3 separate regions of the Homo sapiens genome follow, and all the other regions are linked to region 1. Evidence: promoter capture Hi-C in 16 types of primary human blood cells and fetal thymus (Javierre and others, 2016). All regions are on one chromosome and are shown on one strand. The core of a region is centred on a gene start or on the middle of the fragment in contact, and the rest is flanking DNA. Distances in the headings are between cores, read along the strand shown.

Region 1 (2,944 bases), core at 330-2,829:
TAGCTGGGCGTGGTGGCACGCGCCTGTAGTCCCAGCTACTCGGGAGGCTGAGGCAGGAGAATCGCTTGAACCCGGGAGACGGAAGTTGCAGTGAGCCGAGATCGCGCCACTGCACCCCAGCCTGGGCGACAAAGTGAGACTCCGTCTGGAAAAAAAAAAAAAAAAAAAGTGCGTCCAGACTGGGCGCGGTGGCTCACGCCTGTAATCCCAGCACTCTGGAAGGCCGAGGCGGGCGAATCACCTTAAGTCGGGAGTTTGAGACCAGCCTGACCAATATGGTGAAACCCCGACTCTACTAAAAATACAAAAATTAGCCGGGCCGGTGGCAAGCACCTGTAATACCAGCTACTCAGGAGGGTGAGGCGGAGGATGCAGTGAGCCGACATCGCGCCACAGCACTCCAGCCTAGGCAACAGAGGGAGACTCTGTCGAAAAAAAAAAAAAAAAAAAAAAAAAAGTGTCTCCATGCTAAATACTACTGGCCTTCCAGACAAAAGAGTAAAAAGGTATAAAAGGATTCTCACCTGAGGGTATCTGTCTGCCAGCTTTGTACGACAAATATAGTTTCTCATCTCCAAACTCGTATTTGAACAACTGGCACAGATTTCCCGTTTTCTCTTGAAAAAGTGCAGTACTTGAGGGGTGAGGAGGTGGTGTTAAGTTATAACATTCCGAAGTAACACTAGAAGACATGCTCAAATTGCCCTCTTCCCAAGTTTCTTCATACAGACATTAGCTTTTCTCTCAAACCAGGGTTCTTTCACTCTCACCAGATTCTTAGATCAGAAGTCCTTATATTGATTTCAATCTTCTTAGACATTGGGAACAGGAGATCATCATCAGTAGACTTTCTATTCATCACGCAGCTCCTCCCCCTCCTTAAAAATCTAGAGCGATGAAGGCAATAATTGGGGAGGCTGCGCTGTTTTGTTTTTAAAGCCGGGTTGGGAGGGAGGGAAGTGGTGGTAACTGGGACCCCTGGTCTTATAGAAGACGGTGATTAATTCCGGACTTTAAGTGAGATAACTTCGGTCTGCTTTAACCTTTTAAAAACGCCGCCATAAAACTGATTTAAAAGTCAAAGCAAAACAAAACCAACCAACGCTGCCGCTTTCGGAAGTTTCTCACCCCGGACGGGGCCCAGGAGGGCTCACCTTACTGATCCCTGCGGCGGAGAACCCCACGTCCAGCCCTTTATATTTGGTTTTCCAAAATCTGGAAATCCCCCTACAACTTCAGCTCGCCCACGGACGCGAAGATGCAGTCCTCAATCTCCGCGGCCCGAGCCCCGCAGAGCCCTTGGCCTTCTCACCCACGCTGGCGGGCGCACCCCCTGTCCCGCCCGGCCGGGGCGCCCTCCGCAGCCCGCAACCCGCAGCCCTGCAGGCCCCGCACGCTCCCCTCAGGGCCTGGAGCCCGCCCCCAGCTCCCGCTCGCCGCCGCGGAGCCCACCGAGCCGTGGCCGTCTGCCGCGCCGGCCGCGTCGTCCTGCTGCAGCTCCGCAGTCATGGCCGAGGCGCCCAGCCGCGGGTCACCGGTCTCCCGCCGCAGCCGCCGCCGGCCCAGCCTCTCAGGACTAGGCCCCGCCCCCGCCCTCCACCCCGCTCCGTCCCGCCCCCGCCCGCAGCGCGCGCCGGAGGCTTGGCCCACATGCCCCGCCCCCGGCATGCGCGCGCACGCAAGGCGCGCGGCCCGGGGCCGAACAGTTCTGCGTGCTCCCGCGCACGCCCGGCTGACCAGACGTCGGTCACGTGATCCCGGCCCCGCCTGTCGCTGTTGGTCAGCTTCACAGCCGGTGGAGGCTGCGGGCCGCGCTGCCAGTGTCCGGGAACTGGGTTTGCGAATCCTGGGAGCCGCGTTCCTGAGTCTTCTCCGCTCTCTGCCCTCAAAACCTCATTTGTAGGACTGACCTCCGGCTCCACCCTCCCCACGGGCGAGTTAAAACTGTTCCCCCGCCGTGGGAAACTGCCGAATGACCGTGGAATAAAGGATTTCCCATCAGGCTTTGTAGCCATTTCCAACTCCAATGACATGAAGAAGTGTTCACCATCTTTAAGGAGAGAAGGAGGATGAATGCAGTCGCTTGTCTAAAGCTAACCAAACGGACCAAAGCCTCCGTTCATGGGTGTCCCGCTTGGTGCCCTTAACCCTGATGCTCTTAACCTGGGCATGATAAGGAAAATTGCAGTTTTTCCATTTTCGATTTTCAGAAGTTCAAACTAAAATTTTGTGTTACTTTGTTACGTTTGAGCCAGATATTTACGATTTCATGTTAAAAGACCAGGTGCTCCTATTGAATTGTTTTTTGTTTGGTTGGTTTCGGTTTGTTTTTTTTTTTTTCTTTTTTTTTGAGACGGAGTCTCACTCTGTCCCCTCAAGCTGGAGTGCAGCCGCACGGTCTCGGCTCACTGCAACTTCCGCCTCCTGGGTTCAAGCGATTCTCCTGAGTAGCTGGGATTACAGGCACGCTGTACCACACCCAGGGTTTCACCATGTTGCCCAGGCTGGCCTCGAATTCCTGACCTCAGGTGATCCGCCCGTCTCGGCCTTCCATAATGCTGGGATTATAGGCGTGAGCCACCGCGCCAGGCCTGAATTGTATTTTCAACAACTGTGTGGGAATTGTGATTACTGAACCATGTTTCACATTTAAGATACAAATGTGTTATGATGGCAAACCCACTTGACAGGCTGCTGGGTGTCCCAAATCTGCGTAGAGGCTGAGTGTGGAAGCGCGTCTTTTAAGAGTAGCACCTACACCCTTGCCCTGGTCTGGTCTGACTCTCAAGCTACACTTTTAAGTGTGAATTTAACATGGACGGTGGCCTTTCCTATACTCCTGGCATTGTTGTCGCTGGGATTGTTATGTTTCACCTGCAGGCCTCCCTAGTCTGCATGCGGGCGCAGTTTTTGACAAAAGGAAACAGGTACAGGTCAGGTGCAG
Region 2 (2,944 bases), core at 256-2,755, 240 kb after region 1:
CTGGGGGCCATCCTTCCAGCAGTCCTGACAGAAAACTGGCTTCATGGAGTTGGTGCAGTGCAAACTGGAATGATTCTCTTAGGGAACTTGGTTCTCTCAGACAGTGTGGTATGTTGAGGGAAAGGAAGGAAATCATGGTTTGGCTGAACAGCTGGGCAGAGCAGCAAGGGAAACTGAAGTATGTTAGAAGAGCAGGACCGGAGGATAGAGCAGACGGGGGCCACAGGAGGACTTCTGGAAGGAGCCCACAATTCAACTCCTTTGAGGGCCTTCAACATCTATTTAACGTTGTAACATTTTGAAATTCTATTTTGAGGGGACTAGACTCTCAGAGAAGGGGCGTGAAGAATGTGGGGGACTTAGGTGCAAATGTGTGTGCTGGGGGGCGGTATTTAGGGCTCTTGGTGGAGCCCCTCATGTCATGGAGAAGCGAACCCTTTCCACTGTGCCCCCACCCCCTTTTCCTAGCCCTATGAAGGGCTCAGACTTTCTTGGAGATGTGGAGCATTTCAGCCAGACCCTACGGTCAAAGATCAGTCACAGAGCAGTCTTCTGTGGCAACCTGTGCACAGTCCCCCAAGGCAGCAATCTGGGGTCACCAGGGAAGTTACTGTTACTAATCTGACCTGGGAAGTTTTCTTTTTCGTAGGGGAATCTAGAAATACTCCAGGGAAAGCCACGGCCAAGCCTTTGCCCAGCCAGTAAACTTTTAGGGCTTTTGCGTGAGGTTGGTTTAGAAGAATTTGCCGATGCCAAGGCTGCTATGTTGGTTTCACTGATGCAGATTTAAAGAAGGAGGGCCAGTGAGACCTCGGGAATAGGAAGGCAGAGGAAACCTTTCTATTCTGATGTCTTCAAGTCTTGGTGCTTGAATGTGCCAAGGAGAGTGAGGATGTAAATAATTTAGTTTGCCTTCAGGATGCAGGATCTAATCTAAACATGATTAAGCTGATTTGATTTTATAGATTGGAATTTATAAGTGATAGAAACTGATGAGGTTAATGTGAAATATTTACGTAATAAAAAGCTTCATTACCTGATGCTGAAGGGTAGAGGGAGAAAATATTCTTGGCAACATGTTTAATCTTTTGGAAATGAAGTTGGGTTAAAGTTTTCTTTGTAAAAACTGAATTCTGTGATCTTGTTTTTACACATGCTGTGCTTAAATATTAACACCAATTGAGCAAATTGCCTTTTAACTGCCTTTATTTGCTTTCATTAACAGTATAATTTAAAAGCTCAAGAATTTGCATGGAACCTGTTGTGCATGTTGGGGGGAAAACTATTCATAAATTAATTAATCGTGAGAACATTATCTTTAAGGAAGGTCACAAAACATGAGCATGATTTCCAAAAAGCAGTGACATGTTTTTGCCGTTTCTTGGGGACGTGATGTACTTTTGGCTTAGAGATCTGTGCTGCGTGTGTGTGTGTGTGTGTGTGTGTGCACGCGCGAGATAACTTGGCTGGATCAAGAAAAATTTTAATGACTGGGCATGTTTTAAGTTAAGTTGAGTGAACCTAATTACACTGTAGTTTCCAGAGAGCTAAAGGCAATAATACCATTGGTATTTAAGCACTAGTTTGAAAATTAAAGCCAACCTATATAATTGGCTGTGCTCCTTAGATGGTTTATTTCTTTCTTCCCTCCATTTCTGAAATCCCCCTTTTCTTTCTCTTTCACATTTAAACCAATAGAGAGAAAGAGAGAAACTGCCTAGCGCTGCGAACCACAAGACGGTCCTTCCAGTGGGGAACATTAACTGCATTGTCCTCTCATGAAATGACGCTAAATAATGTTAAAGGTTTCCAGTATGATTTCACTGAAATTGGTTGCTTCCTTCTGTACAGATGTTTTTGTGGTTTAGAACCTCAGCCAAGGCAAACATTATGAATGAGATGCAGAGACCACCATGTCCTATGAAGGGCTGAGAGTTCCTTTGGGAGTTATTTTACTTGTGATTCTGACACCTCTGTTTTGACAAAGCTTCATTCTTTCAGTCTCTTCTTTCCGTCTCCCTCTCCTGGTGCTATTGGTTTGTTGTGGGTGGTTTTCCTAATTAAGTTAATCTGCAACCTAGTTTTTCTGGGTCCACAGATGCCAGAATGCTGAATTTATTTATCTTGAATGTTTTTGTTGGCTACTGTTGAGACACATTCTTCCTCTTCCCCTTTTACCCCAAGTCTGTTTTAAACATTTTTTTTTTGAGGCTTCCAGACGCACTTCAATAAAGAAAGAATTTCTCTCTGGTGTCCATTTGTCAATTTTTTTGTGGGGGATGTATATTGTAAATAATATAATAGATATGTAAAAGGTTGTAAATAAAACCCAAAGGTTATAGAGGAAAAGATGTGTAAATTTGACTACATCAAAAATTTAAAACTTTTTGCATGATTTTCTTTCGGATTTTTGCCTTTTCCTTGCACATTTGTTGGTTCTCTTTCGATATAAATCAGAAAAATGAATCTTTTATCTGTCAAATGCATGGCAAAGATTCTTCCCAGTCTATCATTTGTCCTACAGTTTTGATTATGGTTCCTTTCATCACAGAACATTTCTATTATTTATTTAACTAAAAAATGTCACAATGATGTCTGTAGCGTAGATTTTATAAAGCATCTGATGGTCATATTTTATAATCTAAATTTTGGAAAAGTATTTGGATAATGAGAGATGGAGAAGGTAGAGGGAGAGCAAGGGAGGGATAGAGAGGGCACGAAGATGAGGAAGGGAGGGATGAGGAAGAGGAGAAAGACTGGTGAGAATGAATGATGTTAAAAGATTGATTTTTCTTCCTGTAAAAAAGTTGGCTGTCGTCAAAACACCCCTTCTGTCTAAGGGAAATATTGTCCTTTTGGCATGTACTTGAACCATAAAGATTTCTCTACTTGAGGAGACCTTTCCTAAGAGTTACCTGTCCAGAAGGCAGTCCTACTGTTCTCT
Region 3 (2,944 bases), core at 200-2,699, 150 kb after region 1:
GGCCTCATCCAGCCACACCAACACCTTGTCCCTTTCAGCTGCCAGCTTTCAGCAATGCCGCCTCTAGCCCTGTCATTGAAATGAGCTCACTGCATATGCTTTAAAAGCTCACAGTTCCTGTGCAATGCAGAGGTTGCATATTCCTAGTTTCATAACTGCCTACCCCCTCCTCAGTCTTTTATGTTTCAACAACACCCAACACCTCACAATGTAGTAGCCACTGGGGGCAAGTATTGATAGATTTGTACACATGAATTCAATGAATATTTAAAGGCTACCTCCAGGGTGGGTAGGAGTCAGTTTGTATAGATTCCCGGGCACCTACAGCAAAGTAGATTCCAGCAGCTTTGAAGACAGTCAATCTACAAAGGGACACAGGTGCTGGCTACTGGGAATGAGCACACGCCGGGAGTCCGTGCACATGAAAATGGCAAAGGGATCTGAGGGGATATTGACAGAGCAGGACCAAATCTGCTATAAAAAGGAGGTGTTTCAATTCTAGAGAAGGAGGTCCAGAGAAGACCTCCTTGAGAAGATGACATTTGAATAAGAACCTGCAGGAAGTATGAGCCAGCTATGCAGGTACTCCTAATTTCCATTGCAGTGCCTGGCATGTAGCATCTACTCCATGTTGTTTGTTAAATAGCTGAATGAATGGATGAACAACGAACGATGTTTCATGTTTGCTTTCACTGGCATGAGAAGGATTCCAGGCTCCTGGTCCCTACCTTGAGATCGGATGCTGGAGCAGGTGACTTGTACCAGCCAGGAGGTCCAGCTGCAGGCCTCTTGCATCATCTCTCCTGCTGACCTCGCAGAGCCGGGAGAGAAATTTGCATTCCAAGTCCCACAGCATCCTGGTGAAGAAAACACTCCAAGTGTTGGAGAGTTGCAAACTTGCTGGGTGCGTGTGGGCTGCCTCAGGAGCAACAAATGAGCCTGTGCAGATGGTGCTGAGATAAACGGCGCCATCTTTTTACTGTAGCAGTACAGTCGTAATTTTCCAGAGACATTTATTAGGTGGCGTCTCCCTTCTGCGGGACTGTGCTGTGGCTGGCGTGTAGAGCTGTTGCAAGCAAGGTGGAGCACGGAACCCAGTGCTAATGGCGTGATGGGCACCCAAATCTCTCCCATTCCTTTCCTCTCATTCTCGAGTCTGACAATTTATAGGTTAGTTTGATGCTTGAAAAGCTGTGTCTCTCTAGTAATATGTATTCTTTGTAAGTATGCCCTGCTGTGGCATATACTGAAAGAACTCCATCGGATAATTATCTTCCCTTTTATTTATTCTCCTTCTTTTCACTTGATCTGCATCACTATAAAATATTCCAGTGGTCTCCTCTGAGTAGAAAGTCTTCTTCGTGATTGTAAAGTGTATTTATATACAGTATTAAATGCACACTAGGTGGCTCTTCATCACAGCACTTGCCTGATGAGACAGAGCTCTGTCCGTGGTGGGGTTGACGAGGTCCCACTATTTCCAGTTGGGAGAGGGAAAGCTGGGGTTTTTGAGGCCACTGGCTTGGCCACAGGCCCCAGTGGTATGGAGAGACCATCTCAGGAGCCTATGTTTAGCTTTAACTTCCCCTCAACACACCTTGACTTGGAGAAAGCAGCCATTCCCCCACTGCCTCTGGGATCTTTGCCCAGAATCCCCAGGGAGCCTCCTTTGCCATGGGAGTCTTGGTCCAACTTGGTCCAACTCCCCACTCTTCTCAGAATCTAGAGAAAGTGAGAGCTCACTAGTAGACCACAGCATCTGTGTCTGGGTCCTGGTGACTTGCTTGCTTTAGTGTCCTCCAGCCCTTTCATGTGCACATTGCTTCTCTAACTAGACAGAAAGCTCCCTGTGGACAGGCACAAGATCATCCACCTCTCTTGATTTCCCCAAAGCCTTAAGCACAGAGTTGGGTGATCAACTTACGATGAGCAGTAAATAGGTATTGCCTTGAGTCCCTTTCTAGGAAGCACTGGCGGATTAGGTCCTTCATTCCATGTCCTTGATGCTCATATTAACTTGCATATTTAATACACGGCTTTGTCAAATATTTAAAAGTCTCTTCAACCAGATGACAAGCCCCTGTAGCATCTTACAATCTCAGAACTGGAAGCCTCTTCAGGGGTCCCACTGTCCTCCTTACATCCAGTGTATGACTATGAATCCTGGAATTTCTTTTGCTCTTTTTTTTATTCTCTCAATGCCCAGATTATATAACTGGAATAAAAAAGATGCAAAAAATAATCTAGAAAGAAAACGTACTTAGAGTCAAGACACCTGGGTTCTAGTCAATTCCTTCACAGAGTCACAGAACCTTTCTGGCCTTTATTTTCCTCATCCATAAAATATGGAAATACTTATAATCTTACAAAAGCTAAAGATCTAAAGGTCTTTTGGCTCAACCTTCTGCTCCCAGATGGGTATCTGTGTAACCTGGAAAGGCTGCCAGAGGGGGGATCTCAACAACTTTACTTAACAACTTTACCTGTGTTCTTACCTAGGGTTTAACCACCCTGGAGTTAAGAATGTCATCCTTTTGCCTCTATGTCTTGCTTGTAGTTCAGGCAGAATCTCTGTGTTCCTCAATTGCTTACCAGGGAGAGTGTAGGTATTTCTCCTTCCACCATCTGGAGCTGAGAAGGGGAAGTTTAGAGTGAGGGCTGGGTGTGGACCTTCCAGGGGAAATAGTTCTCCATCCAGCTTTGCATCAGGAACACCTGTGGAGCTTTCAACACCTGCACAGGCCAGGGGCACATCTTGGATCCGTTGGATTGGAGCCTCTGGGGATTGGGTCCCTGCGTCTGTGTTTTTCAAGACTGCCCCCAGTTGATTCTGAAGCTCCAGCAGAGTTCAAGGGCCATGTGGGGATCCTATGGCCCTTCTCCCTCACCCTCTACCTCTGTAGGTAGGAATTGGGAATACCTTTGGGGTCTCAGCTTCTATCAC

What was found. Contacts are between HindIII fragments. The CHiCAGO score rates a contact against its expected background, and 5 or more counts as called.
Region 2: a fragment that was not itself captured here is called in contact with the fragment with the promoter of USP28 in region 1 in 3 of 17 cell types (total B cells, naive B cells and neutrophils); the score reaches 6.9 in total B cells.
Region 3: a fragment that was not itself captured here is called in contact with the fragment with the promoter of USP28 in region 1 in 1 of 17 cell types (naive B cells); the score reaches 5.5 in naive B cells.

The regions. Positions count from the first base shown.
Region 1 is chr11:113,873,993-113,876,936 of GRCh38, forward strand. USP28 (ubiquitin specific peptidase 28) reads right to left here and starts at 1,580. Exons shown (of 26, transcript NM_001346252.4): 1 at 1,453-1,580. The coding sequence starts at 1,509. RefSeq lists silencers at 1,279-1,638, 1,659-1,818 and enhancers at 1,555-1,849, 1,839-2,088, 2,139-2,800. The HindIII fragment of the contact is 13,869 bases long and covers 1-2,944 here.
Region 2 is chr11:114,109,735-114,112,678 of GRCh38, forward strand. The region is part of intron 2 of ZBTB16 (zinc finger and BTB domain containing 16); the gene reads left to right. Among named protein-coding and RNA genes, the nearest start is that of ZBTB16, 51 kb to the left of the region's middle. RefSeq lists a silencer at 1,499-1,699. The HindIII fragment of the contact is 960 bases long and covers 1,026-1,985 here.
Region 3 is chr11:114,026,700-114,029,643 of GRCh38, forward strand. No RefSeq gene overlaps it. Among named protein-coding and RNA genes, the nearest start is that of ZBTB16, 32 kb to the right of the region's middle. The HindIII fragment of the contact is 3,700 bases long and covers 1-2,944 here.